5 separate regions of the Homo sapiens genome follow, and all the other regions are linked to region 1. Evidence: promoter capture Hi-C in human tissues and cell types (Jung and others, 2019). All regions are on one chromosome and are shown on one strand. Each heading gives the region's core, a stretch centred on a gene start or on the middle of the fragment in contact. The rest is flanking DNA. Distances are from core to core; before and after follow the strand shown.

Region 1 (2,700 bases), core at 160-2,659:
GGGGAGAGTGTCAGCAGGAAAACATGTGAACAAATGTCTCTGTGTCATAAACAAGCTTAAGAAGAAGGTGCTGTGCTTTGATATGCACATACATAAACGTCTCGGTGCATTAAAGAGCAGTATTGCCGCCAGCTTGTCTCACCTCCAGCCCTAAGGCGATTTTCTCCTATCTCAGTAGATGGAACATACAATCGGGTTTTATACCGAGACATTCCATTGCCCAGGGACGAGCAGGAGACAGATGCCTTCCTCTTGTCTCAACTGCAAGAGGCCTTCCTTCCTCTTATACTAATCCTCCTCAGCACAGACCCTTTACGGGTGTCGGGCTGAGGGATGGTCAGGTCTTTCCCTTCCCACGAGGCCATATTTCAGACTATCACATGGGGAGAAACCTTGGATAATACCTGGCTTTCTGGGGCAGAGGTCCCTGTGGCCTTCCGCAGTGTATTGTGTCCCTGGGTACTTGAGATTAGAGAGTGGTGATGACTTTTAACAAGCATACTGCCTTCAAGCATTTGTTTAACAAAGCACATCCTGCATAGCCCTAAATCCATTAAACCTTGAGTCAACACAGCACACGTCTCTGTGAGAACAGGGTTGGGGGTAGGGTTACAGATTAACAGCATCTCAAGGCAGAAGAATTTTTCTTAGTACGGAACAAAATGGAGTCTCTTATGTCTACTTCTTTCTACATAGACACAGTAACAGTCTGATCTCTCTTTCTTTTCCCCACAGTGCACTGTTGTTAGTGCTCCAACCTCACAGTGCAGGGGTTGAGGTGTCAGGAGAGGGAACACATCAGTGCCATTTCACTGTCTCCTGTGTCAAAGCAAAATTAAAATGCAGACCAGAATTCAAAAACTCCTGAGCAAACAAAACCCAGTAGGCCTTAAAAACAGCCTTAACCTTGCTTAACCTGCAAACATAAGCAACAATTCACTTGAGTCATTTCTGGTAAATGCTTGTGTTAGGGAAGGACAAAACTCAATCTCAACCGATCAAAAGTAGGCAACTCACATGCTATTATGTCATTAGGGACTTTCCAAGGCAAATTTAAAAAAATGCATTTTTATAATTGTAACTAATCAAATAATTTCTTTGTTTTACTCCTTCACTCACCCTGTGAATACTTGTGTCTAATGCTTTAAGCATAGAAGCGCGAGACTTCTTTTGGTTTGATGCTTCCTAATTCATGAATTGCTGTTTGTTCAGATAAACTCTAGAAAATGCTCCTGCGCCTCAAATTTTTGCTTTCAGGAGAGTCATCCCGGTTTAATGACACAAGAACAACTGTTTCCCTTCTGTACGGCAGATCTACCAAGATGGCCGCGCCCAGAGAGCCGTGGCTCAGGGCGCGGACATGTTACCTCCTCGAAGAGAAGCCCATGTCCCATCGTCCTAGCGCGGCAGAATTGACTCGCGCCCTCGTCCGCCGCCATAGGCCAGTGCCGGGGTTTAAGGGCCAGGAAAGGAAGCATTCAGGGAATTTAGGTGTAGCCAGAAGAAAATCAGGTGAGTGTTTGGGTCTCTCCGTGGAGTAGGTTAAAGGGGTAGGGAGCTTCTGAGGAGCCTGTGGGGAGAGCTGGCGGCCTGGGCGGTGGAGCCTTTGGGTTGGGGTGCCTTTGCGGTCCGGCGTGGGAGAGTTCTTGTGGTCGGGCGTTAAAGGTCTGTCGAGTTCAGCGACTGAGACTCGGCGTCAGAGTTTGGGGTCTCTGAGGGTCACTCTGTTAGTAGGCCTCTGGATCACTGGATGGAGAACTCTAGGGGGACGCTGCCCAGCACGCCGGCTTTATCACCGACGCCATTATTATCACTCCAAATGCTGCAGTTTAAAGTCGGTGATGAAGCCGGGGTGCTGGGCAGCGTACGAGGGTGTGTGGTGTAGGTTTTGGGGTGAATCGGGGATGTGTGTTAAGTGTTTCGGGGAGGCCCAGGCATGTGGGGCTCAGAGGCTTGTAAAATCTGGTATTTTACAAGCCCAGGCCCCTGGCTGGGGTTGAGTTGTGAAACTATAACCGCCCACCCTTGCCGGCTGCCTAGACAGAGCCGACTTGTTAAGACAGGGAAATTGCAATGGAGAAAGAGCAATTCATGCAGAGCCGGCTGTGCGGGGAGACCGGAGTTTTATTATTACTCAAATCAGTGATAAAAGAAAAATTGAAGCCGAATTAAATTTACAGGAGTTTCCTTGAGCAATGAACGATTCGCGAATTGGGCAGCCCCCAGAATCACAGCAGATTAACAGAGACTCCAGGGGTGCCTCGTGGTCAGAACAAATTTATAGACAAAAAAGGTAAAGTGACATACAGGAATCGGAAGCGAGGTCCAGAAACAGTGAGATTGGTTACCATTCGGCGTTTGCCTTATTTGAACGCAGTTGGAACATTCAGCAGTCTATGAGTATGGCCGCTGGGACTGGCCACCACTCAGCTATTGTTACAGGTGCATACGATTAAGTTCGGTTTTCAATTTTGTCTGTTAAGCTAGGTTGCAGTTTATCCACAAGGACTCAAATATAGAAGTATGGAGTCGTTCTCAGGCAATATTTAGTTTGCTTAAGCATCAGTCTCCTTGAGCATTTGGGGATCAAAGTTTCCTCCTATCCCCCAGACGGAATCTAGCTCTGTTGTCCAGTCTGGAGTGCAGTGGTGCGATCTCAGCTCACTGCAACCTCCGCCTCCTGGGTTCTAGCGACTGTCC
Region 2 (2,700 bases), core at 160-2,659, 1.4 Mb before region 1:
TTAATTGCATAGATGTCTAACGACTCCACTGCAGACATTAATAAAACTGTAATAATGAGTATTTACATAATAATTTCATCATGATTCATGACCTAATTTAAATTGCATGGACCTCTAATGACTCTACTGCAGGTATTAATAAAGCTTTAATAATATGAGTATTTACATAATAATTTCATCGTTTCATTTATAATTGTTCTTACTAGATATTGTTTACCATTGGGATGGAAGTTCACCCTGTCTTGTTCATCACCTTCTCATGATTGTGACAGGTTCATAATCATGTGTACATTACTGCAGGGAAGAGGGAATCATCAATTAAACAATGAGCAAATATATACAACTTACATGTTTTCACATGTTTATGATCAGTTTAGGGGATCTTGTCATCTTTTCCAAGCAAAGCAAAGCCTGTATACACTGGGGTCACAGCTCATGAGAACAAAGGGACTGAGAGTTGGGAAACATACACTCATTAAGGCTGAAGTGTTCACCAGTAAACTATTGGGATTATCCAAAAGAGCCATCAAACTTGGAAAAGGCAGGAGAGAGTGTAAGAAGACACAAAGGTGCTCACCAGGATGAGGATGCTCTGCGTAGCTCTGTTCTCTGGGGAGGCTCTGGGGGAGAGATCGCTCCTATCAATGTGCTGGACCCGCTGCTTGTGCCTGTGCAGGATGCAAACCATGGAGCTGCTGACCCAGAGCATGAGCCCCAGACACAACACATCAGGGAATGATAACAACATTGCACGCAGTGTCTGTGCGATTTTGTTGTTGCCTCCCCCAGAACAGTATCCCAAATCCTCGTTCACTGTGATGTTTGTGTAGTTCCATTTGCCAGTCACATACATGGGAAAGATGATGTTTACCAACATGCACACGATCCAGCACAGGAGAACAGAAAAGCCAACATGCTTGGGGGCTTTCTCTTTAAGTTTTCCCACCTGGATTTCCTGGAGCTGACCGTGATCACCTGGAAGACACTCAAGAGGCAGGTGGTGCCAATGGACACTCCCCTGCCCACTCTATGGAGATAGAAAACAAGTTTGCACCCAAGAGCATTAAGAAAATATCTAACCCCAAAAGCTGCCATTGTCTGGGGGACTCCTTTACAGCGGAGAGCTAAGAAGTTGGCTACAATCAGGTGCTTAACAATCAAATCTGTGGACCTTAACCTGTACCCAGTGCAGTAAAGGGAGAGATAATGGAGAAGAAGAGAGAAGCTCCCCAGGACTCCCACCACGGTCTGTGATAAGAAGATCATTCCCACTGCCACATACCGGGAGGCCATTCTGCCACTGATGTCTGTCACTGATGTTTGTCTTCAGGGCTGGGAGGTCCTGCATGGAAATAGGAGGCATGAGCTACGTTTATAGTGTCACCTGCAACCCAGCATTCTCCACCTCCCATTGCTCTGCCCTTAGAAATACTTAAAGTCACTCTTCTCTTAAGAGGCTTTTGAGAGTTGAATGCGTAACCTTTAAAGAGCACTTCCCATGTGGGAATCACTGCTGTGCAGATCATACGTGCGGCAACTTCTTTTTTCACAAACCTATGAGGCAGGCATTACTATTACTTTCATTGTAAATATGAGAAGGACATAGACACAGAGAGGTGAAGTGGCTAGTGACATTTCCACCCTACTTACAGGCAAGCACGAACTTGAACCTGCCTTGTTTTTTTGCACAGAGAGTGCATTTAGCCATTATAGTTTACTAACAAAGCTAGATAGCTGTGTTCTTTGAATAAGACACACACATACAGAGACCTTTGTTTTTATTCCTTGTCATTATATTTTAGTCTTGTAGTAGGTTACTGTATATTGTAATGATTTTATATCATGTGCAAAAATTTATTCTATTTGTCAATATCTGAATAAATAAAGGTTTAGAGATCTTAAAAAATGTAGATGAATGAATTACAGTTTAACACTATAGAAACCTGTGCCATAACAAATTGGATTTAATGACTGCAAGCACGGATCAATATTAGAATGGAAAGAGAGTAAAAAACATTGTGAGCATTTGCTTTTGTGCCAAGGACAAAGGCATAAAGGCACCTACCACAATCATGTCTTACCCAAAACAATAGGACATGAAACACCAATATGGGATAAAATAGTGTACGGTAATAACCAAATTCTTACAAATCTTAGATGACATATCTAGAGCCATTAGTAACTGAGTTAAAGAAATTATTATCCTTAGGACAATATTTGCATAATTAAATTAAAGTGTGACAAACATGAAAATTGGAAACTCTAATGGATGTGTGTTATATAGTTGATAAACAGAAATTAGAGAGTTTGGGTGATGTTAGAATCTATTTGAAGCAGAGAACACATTAGAGGACACATTTGAGTCTGACAGCTGCTCTCTTTAGCTCGTTATTATAAAGTTACCTTTTCCTTAAATTCTGCCTCCTTAACATCAAGAGGAAAGACAGTCTCACCATAATCAACAGACTATGGTGGTTTTCAGTGGAGACACAATTAATGCTCCCATTAAGCCCTGCACACTCTCAGAATTAGAGAAAACATTTTCGTTCCAGCAACTACCATTTAGATACACTGTTTGTGTAAGGAATTACATGACTCCTGTAGAGTCAGTCTACTCATTACAAGCATGGTGATATTATAGTCACGTCCTCAGCAATCCTGAAATTTTAGTCTATGATTCCTGTTGGGTAGGCGGAACAG
Region 3 (2,700 bases), core at 20-2,519, 1.1 Mb before region 1:
ACTGAAAGGCAAACAGCTTCTGGCTCTGAGGGGCTAGTCTAATGCTAAAGAAAGTGTCTTTCAGGTCTAAGCCAGAGAACCAGCTGTCCTCAGCTGGCAGCAACCTTAACGTGTACGGGTTAGGTACTGTTGGATGTAAAGTCACTGTAGCTTGATTGACTAAGTGCAAGTCCTGTACCGGCCTGTAGTCATTGGTCCCTGGCGTGGGAACAGGCAGGAGGGGAGTGTTCCAGGGAGACTGACAAGGGACTGTAATTCTAAAGGCTCTCAGGCTCTTGAGATGGACCTGGATACTTTCAAGATCTTCTCTGGGGACCAGGTACTGTTTTTGCCTGACTGGCTGGGCCCTACGCTTAACTTCTATAAGTACCAGGGCTTGGTTAACTGCCATCCCTGGAGGGTTGTCTTCTGTCTACACCCTTGGCCACCGCTTAGCCAGAGTTGGTCTTATCTCTTGGCCTGGCTCAGTTAAAAGAAGTCTCCATTCCTCTTCCTGGGGGACTGTAAGGGCCATAATGACTCCCGTTCTGGGTAACCTTAGCTGTAAAGAGCTGTGCTCTGTAGAAGAGACGGTGGCTCTCAGCTCGCTAAGCAAGTCCTTTCAAGTCCTTTCAAGTCAGGCATGTACAAGAACTGGTGAATCACTTTATGTCTTCCTACAGTACAAGTCTGGGGCAACAGAAAGCTTGCTTTGATAAAACTCCCATGGCTCCGATTATAACAATAGTCTTTTTGGAAAGGGGGGCAACCGGGGCGGTTACTACTGAATGTTCAGCACTGGTATCAATACGAAAATCAATGTCTTTGCCCCTAACTGTCATCTTGACCATGGGCTCCTTGGGGGCAGTTGAGCCTGGTCCTCCTCAGTTCAGTAACTCTTCTGCTATATTGAACAGGGCTCCTTCTGGGGCCTCCTGCTCTGAGCCACCTTGTTTTCCTTTTAGCTGAGGGCACTTGTCCTTCTAATATCCTATTTCTTTACAGTAAGCACACTGGTTACACTGCAAGTTCGGATGGCCAGGCTAAGTATCTTTCTGGGGCACATGCCTACCTGGTAGCACTCTCAGAATCCATGTCGCCCAAGCTGGCTGGAGTACCCAGCAGGGATGCTCCAAAGGGCAGGCCTAAGTCACCTAAGGGGTTGCCTCGACCTTCTGTTAATTACCTCGCTTCCAAGTCAGGGAACCAAGAAATGTAGCATGACGAGCCGCAGACAGTACCTCTCAGACAACGGATTAAAGAAGGAAGTGGCTTTATTCGGCCCAGCGCATCAGAGGACTCGTGTCTCAAGAACTGAGCTCCCTGAAAAAGAAATTCCTGGCCCTTTTAAGGGCTTACAGCTCTAAGGCATCCACGTGAAAGGGTCATGATAGATCAAGCAAGTGTGGGGAATGTGACTTGACACTACGTGCATCAGCTAACAGAACAGAAACTTTTGCAATGCTTCTTCATACAATGTCTAGAATTTACAGATAACATAAGTAGTTTAGGTCAGGGGTTGGTATTATTATTATTTTTAACCACCGGGGCCAGGTGGTAGCACCAAGGTCGTCTGGCTATTTATCTTACTTCTGTTTCTTTCTAACTTTTTGCTTTCTTCCTTTCCTCCTGTCTTATAAACTAGGCAAGGGGGAGGGAGGAAGGCAGCAGGAGAAGTGGTGGTCTGCTTCCTACCTCAGCCTCCAGAGTAGCTGGGACCACAGCTGCGTGCCACCACACCACACTAATTTTTGTGTTCTTCGTAGAGATGGGCTTTCGCCATGTTGCTCAGGCTGGTGTCCAACCCCAGAGCTGAAGGGATCCAGCTGCATCGGCCTCCCAAAATGCTGGGATTACAGGCATGCTGTTTTATCAGATTGCTATTATAATAGGATGGGACCCACACTCAATAATACTTACAATGGCACTGGTGATTCTTATCTGTGTCCAGCATTAAACATCAAGGAAGTTTCCTCCATGTTGAGAGCTGAGATCAGTCTGTGATCCACAGGGAGGTGAGGGGGCTGTGCTCTGCATGGAGTTTGGTTAGGGCTAGATCTGTGCCCTGAAGATCTGTGTCCTGCTGCAGCGTGTGTGTGGACTTTTCCAGGAGGGGAGCAAGATCTGAAAACGGGTCAAAATTACATTTGTAGGTCTTCCTGTGGAACTTTCTTATCTCTGCATGGTCTCTGGTGCAGTGGGTAGCAAAGGACCATCTTTCTCTCGGGTGAGGTTTCCCCTGTGTGTGTGTTTTGTCACAGGAAAGGAGTCAATGGTTTCTAAATATTAAATCTCTTGCTTTTTTAACATACAGGATTTCCAAAGACTCATGTTACGTGAGGAAGCCACCAAGAAGAGCAAAGAAAAGGAGCCAGGGATGGCTCTTCCTCAGGTAAGTGATATTCCTTGGTGGATTCTTCTGTCTCTTTCCTTTCTGAAGTGCCAGGTATTGTAGTAGCCAATCTTCTCTGAGTGTGAAGCATTCTACATCACACGTTTGCTCGCACTCACCCGTGTCTTTTCTCAGTCCCTCTCATCTTCACTTAAATTCCATCTCCTATAACCTAGTGACATGAGCTTGGGAAGAGGCTCCACTGGGCATGGTCCTGGGAAGGGCTCACACCAGACATGGATGGAGATGGGGTGTGGGCCCCATGGTGTCAGTGATGTTGGGCAGCAGGGATTGTTCAGGGGCCACATCTGGATGCATGTTTAGCTCTT
Region 4 (2,704 bases), core at 164-2,663, 1.0 Mb before region 1:
CGGAGACCAAGGTGGGCAGATTGCTTGAGGTCAGGAGTTTGAGACCAGTCTGTACAACATGGTGAAACCTCAAATATACTAAATGCCAAAAATGGGCCAGGTGCAATTGCTCACACCTGTAATTCCAGCACTTTGGGAGGCTGAGACGGGCCAATCACTTGAGGTCAGGAGTTCGAGACAAGCCTGGCCAACATGGTGAAATCCCGTGTCTACTAAAAGTACAAAAATTAGCTGTTCATGGTGCTGTGCACCTGTAATCCCAGACTTGGGAGGTTGAAGCAGGAGAATCACTTGAACCCAGGAGGTGGAGGTTGCAGTGAGCTAAGATCACCCCACTGCACTCCAGCCCGGGTGACAGAGTGAGACTCTGGGCTGAGGAGGGAGAATCACTTGAGGTAGGAGAATCATGCCACTACACTTGAGCCTGGGTGATAGAGCATGACTCAATCTCAAAGACAAAAGAGGAAATAGCTTACACTGGGAGGCTTAAGAGACAGAAATTTATTTTTCATGAATTTGGGAAGGGAGAAATCCAAGAGCAAGGTGCCAGCCAAATAAGTTCCTGGTGAGAGGCTTCTTCATGGTTTAGCCCAGCCATCTTCCTGCCATGTCCTAACATGGTGGAAAGAGGAACAGGCAATGAGCTCTTTAATGTCTCTTTATAAATGCACTTTTAGTATTCACAGGTAGTCAACACCCATGGCTAAATTCTCTCCAAGTCTGCATCTGCAGCAACATCCTATTAGAGAATACCACATCTACCAAAGCTTATTTGAGAAGTAGTTATTTATCTTATTTTTTTGAGATGTAGTCGCATTCTCTCACCCAGGCTGGAGTGCAGTAGCATGGTCTCGGCTCACTGCATCCTCCGCCTCCCAGGTTCAAATGATTCCTGCTTCAGCCTCCCAAGTAGCTGGGATTAAAGGCACCCGCCACCATGCATAGCTAATTTTTTTTGTATTTTTAGTAGAGATGGGGTTTCACCATGTTGTCCAGGCTGGTCTTGAACTTATGACCTCATGATCCACCTGCCTCAGCCTCCAAAAGTGCTGGGATTACAGGCATGCACCACCGCGCCCTGGTGTTATTCAGTTCTTTTTTTTTTTTTTTTTTTTTTTTTTTTGAGACGAAGTCTCGCTCTAGTCCCCAAGGTTGGAGTGCGATGGTGCAGTCTATGCTCACTGCAACCTCCGCTTTCCAGGGTCGAGTGATTCTCCTGCCTCGGGTCCCCCAAGTAGTGGGGATTACACGCCCGGCTAATTTTTGTATTTTTAGTTGAGACGGGGTTTCACCATGTTGGCCAGGCTGTTCTAGAACTCCTGACCTTGGGTGATCCACCCGCCTTGGCCTCCCAAAGTCCTGGGATTACAGGCATGAGCCACCATGCCTGGCCATAGTCAATTCTTATTCCTTATAATGCTGTGTATTTTCTTGACCTCATATATTAGAAGGTAGTGATCTTAACATGTATTTCTGTTCTTATGTTGTGTACTGGTGGTAAGAACAAGTTGTGGTTTTTTTCTTAAGAGGGAATTGTTTAGAATTCTGCAGGCAGTATAAATCTACTTATTTTCTTGCTTGTTTTATCATGGGTTACAGTATTTTATTATTTGATTAATGAATTAATAATATATTTTATTAATTGATTTTATGATTTTACATGTGAGTTTTTGGTACGTGGTATGCAATATAACTGAGAGATTCCACTCATTAATGTCAAAAGTGCCCCCGGGCGCAGTGGCTCATGCCTGTAATCCCAGGATTTAGGAGGCTGAGACATGTGGGTCACCTGAGGTCAGGAGTTCGAGACGAGCCTTGCCAACGTGGTGAAACCCCATCTCTACTAAAAATTTAAAAATTAGCTGGGCATGGTGGTGTGTGCCTGTAATCCCAGGTACTCAAGAGGCTGAGGCAAGACACTCGCTTGAACCCAGGAGGTTGAGGTTACAGTGAGCCCAGATTGTGCCACTGCACTCCAGCCTGGGTGACAGAGCGAGACTCCATCTCAAAAAAAAAAAAATACAAAAATTTTTTTTAAAAAGTTACAAAGCGCCTGTTCCACATGGATATAGGTAATTTTGTAACAGTTATTCAGAAAAATATGGTATTAACATTTTCTTTTTTTTTTGAGATGGAGTCTCACTTTTTTGCTCAGGCTGGAGTGCAGTGGTGCGATCTCAGTTTACCACTATCTTCGCCTCCCGGGTTCAAGCAATTCTCCTGCCTCAGCCTCCCAAGTAGCTGGGATTACAGGCTCCCGCGACCACGCCCGGCTACTTTTTGTATTTTTAGTAGAGACGGGGTTTTGCCACGATGGCCAGGCTGGTCATACTCCTGATCTGAGGAGATCCACCTGCCTCGGCCTCCCAAAGTAGTGGGATTACTGGTGTGGGCCACCAAGCCCTGCCTTTTTTTTTTTTTTTTTTTTGACTCGAGTCTCACTTTGTCACCCAGGCTGTGGTGCAGTGGTGCGATGTTGGCTCACTGCAACCTTTGCCTCTTGGCTTAAAGTGATTCTTGTGCCTCAGCCTCCCGAGTACCTGGGATTACAGGCACGGGCCACAACACCTGGCTAATTTTTGTAATCTTTTATTATCTTCTCTGTGCTGTGATGGTTTGACAGTACAGGATTTCCATTGATTTTGGTTATCCTTACAAGAGCTTGTTGTTGATTATTTACCAATATAGTACATTGTCCGGTCCT
Region 5 (2,700 bases), core at 163-2,662, 1.5 Mb before region 1:
AAGTCTATGATGGCATGTAAGGGATGATGTATGACTGAAGGTCTTGCCACACCTATTACACCTGTAAGGTTTCTCACCAGTGTGAATTCTCCTATGTCTTTCAAGGTTTGATTTGAAACTGAAAGCTTCATCACATTCTTCACATTTGTAAGGTTTCTCTCCACTATGAAATTTATGATGGTATACAATGGATGACGTATGACTGAAGATCTTGCCACAATCATTACACTTATAACATTTCTCTCCAGTATGAATTTTCTGACGTATTTCAAGATTTTATTTGAAACTGTAAGCCTTGTCACATTCTCCACACTTGCAAGGTTTCTCTCCACTATGAAGTCTACAATGGCAGGTAAGGGATAACTCCTGACTGAAGGTCTTGCCACACTCATTACATTTGTACAGTTTCTCTCCATTATGAATTCTCCTATGTCTTTCAAGACTTGATTTGAAACGGAAAGCTTCATCACATTCTTCACACTTGTAAGGTTTCTCTCCAGTATGAAGTCTACGATGGCATGTAAGGGTTGACATATGACTGAAGGTCTTGCCACAATCATTACACTTGTATGGTTTCTCTCCAGTATGAGTTATCCTATGACTTTCAAGGTTTGATTTGAAACTGAAAGCTTTGTCACATTCTTCACATTCGTAAGGTTTCTTTCCAGTATGAATGCTACGATGGCATGCAAGGTATGACTTCTGACTAAAGGTCTTGCCACACTCATTACACTTATGTGGTTTCTCTCCAGTATGAATTCTCCTATGTCTTTGAAGGGCTGAATTGTGTCTGAAAGCTTTGTCACATTCTTCACATTTGTAAGGTTTCTCTCCAGTATGAAGTCGATGATGATATGTAAGGGATGACATCTGACTGAAGGACTTGCCACACTCATTACACTTGTAAGGTTTCTCACCAGTGTGACATCTACGATGGCGTGCAAGGTATCGCTTCCGAATAAAGACCTTGTCACATACATCACATTTATATTGTTTCTCTCCTAGATGAATAATCTGATGTTTCCTTAAGAGTGAGCTATAATTAAAGGCTTTGCCACTCTCAATACATTGGAAAGATTTTTCTCTCATGCGTACTTCCTGTCTTTGTGTGAGTAATGAATAATTCAGAAAATTATCCCCATAGTTATTAGATATATGGGTTTTGGGCCTACAAGAAATTCTTTGGGCTGTTGAAACCGAGGAAGCATCGTTGATAGACTTCTCCACTTGATTATTAATTTTCCCTTTGGGCTGAAATATGTGGAGTTCAGACAGATGTGAATGAAAGCTTGATCCAAGCTGATATTTAATAGGCTTGTTTCCAGCATGCCTGTGATCATATTGCTCTGTACTACCCATCAATTTTTTGATTTTTGTCATGGGTGCTTCATGGCCATTTCTTTCATCTTCTTGCCACTGAAACTCAAAGTTATGAATATCTTTCTCAATTTCCTGGAAGGAAAAATCTCCAATGTGATGACGTTCATGTCTTTGCAATGTCCCTGTGTGGATCACTTCTGTATTGCCTTGTGCTGTTGATGAGAACTCCTTCATTGTGCATTTGGAAGAGATACCTACAAAATATAAACACTAATAGGTACACAAAAGACAATACTGATTTTAAACTTCCCAAACATGATCTTCAAAGTTTAGGAACACAAAATCGTAAGATTCTTTAATAAATAAAGGGCGATTACATGTGCTTCAAATTATTATTATGAAAGCTTATTTCCAATATCATGACAAAACACTGAAGGGCACAAACATGTGTAAGCCTAAAATAAGGAGTATTTTTCCACTGTGACCCTAAAGTGTCTAACAGTTTGCAAAAGACATATCACTGTCACATCAATGAAAAGTATATATTCTTCATATTTACAGCATACTTACTGTATACAAATAAATACTAAAGGACCACACAATATAATATACTGGTAAATAATCCACAGCAAGCTCATGTAAGGATAACCAAAATCAATGGAAATTCTGTATTGTTAAATAATCATAGCACTGAGAAGATAAGAAAAGTTTACAAAATTTAGCAAGGCATGGTGGTGCACGTCTGTACTCCCAGCTACTCGCAAGGGTGAGGTACAAGAATTGCTTGAACCCAAGAGGCAGAGGTTGCAGTGAGCCGAGATCGCACCACTGTACTTCAGCCTGGATGACAAAGTGAGACTCCATCTCAAAAAAAAAAAAATATTTTTCTGAATAACTGTCATAAAATTACCTATATCCATGCAGAAAAGGCATATTGTAACATTTAAAATTTTTTTTTTATTTTTGTATTTTTGAGACAATGTTTCACTGTGTCACAACAGGCTGGAGGGCAATGGCCTGATCTCAGCTCACTGCAACCTCCACCTTTTGGGTTCAAGCCATTCTCCTGCCTCAGCCTCCTGAGTACATGGGATTACAGGCACATGCCAGCATGCTTGGCTAATTTTTGTATTTTTAGTAGAGATAGGGTTACATCATATTGGCCAGGCTGGCCTTGAACTTTTGACCTCAAGTGATCCACCCGCCTCAGCCTCCCAAAGTCCTGGGATTGCAGGCGTGAGCCACAGCACCCGCTGGCACTTTGTGACATTAACTAGTAAACTGTGTCAGTTATATTGCATACCACATACCGAAAAGCTTTATGTAAAATCATAAAAATGAATTGGTAAAATAACTGTAACGCATAAAACCAGCAAGCAA

What was found. The method cuts DNA at HindIII sites, captures the fragments that hold promoters and counts their contacts. A contact is called where the count stands out against the background at its distance.
Region 2: a contact is called between a fragment that was not itself captured here and the fragment with the promoter of ZNF649 in region 1, in 1 of the 25 tissues and cell types used here (stomach).
Region 3: a contact is called between a fragment that was not itself captured here and the fragment with the promoter of ZNF649 in region 1, in 1 of the 25 tissues and cell types used here (adrenal gland).
Region 4: a fragment that was not itself captured here is called in contact with the fragment with the promoter of ZNF649 in region 1 in 1 of the 25 tissues and cell types used here (aorta).
Region 5: a contact is called between a fragment that was not itself captured here and the fragment with the promoter of ZNF649 in region 1, in 1 of the 25 tissues and cell types used here (dorsolateral prefrontal cortex).

The regions. Positions count from the first base shown.
Region 1 is chr19:51,903,726-51,906,425 of GRCh38, reverse strand. ZNF649 (zinc finger protein 649) reads left to right here and starts at 1,409. Exons shown (of 5, transcript NM_023074.4): 1 at 1,409-1,512. RefSeq lists enhancers at 143-767, 1,258-1,377, 1,096-1,640. The HindIII fragment of the contact is 10,496 bases long and covers 1-2,700 here.
Region 2 is chr19:53,313,730-53,316,429 of GRCh38, reverse strand. It overlaps the pseudogene VN1R6P. Among named protein-coding and RNA genes, the nearest start is that of ZNF845, 19 kb to the left of the region's middle. The HindIII fragment of the contact is 6,434 bases long and covers 1-2,700 here.
Region 3 is chr19:52,955,698-52,958,397 of GRCh38, reverse strand. ZNF816-ZNF321P (ZNF816-ZNF321P readthrough) reads left to right here. Exons shown (of 4, transcript NM_001202473.2): 2 at 2,294-2,371. The coding sequence starts at 2,309. It overlaps ZNF816 (zinc finger protein 816), which reads left to right. Exons shown (of 4, transcript NM_001202457.3): 2 at 2,294-2,371. The coding sequence starts at 2,309. Among named protein-coding and RNA genes, the nearest start is that of ZNF816, 5.8 kb to the left of the region's middle. The HindIII fragment of the contact is 5,247 bases long and covers 1-2,700 here.
Region 4 is chr19:52,908,569-52,911,272 of GRCh38, reverse strand. All of the region lies in intron 4 of ZNF888 (zinc finger protein 888), which reads left to right. Among named protein-coding and RNA genes, the nearest start is that of ZNF320, 12 kb to the right of the region's middle. The HindIII fragment of the contact is 5,859 bases long and covers 1-2,704 here.
Region 5 is chr19:53,379,596-53,382,295 of GRCh38, reverse strand. ZNF525 (zinc finger protein 525) reads right to left here. Exons shown (of 4, transcript NM_001348156.2): 4 at 1-1,574. The coding sequence ends at 277. Among named protein-coding and RNA genes, the nearest start is that of ZNF765, 14 kb to the left of the region's middle. The HindIII fragment of the contact is 5,110 bases long and covers 1-2,700 here.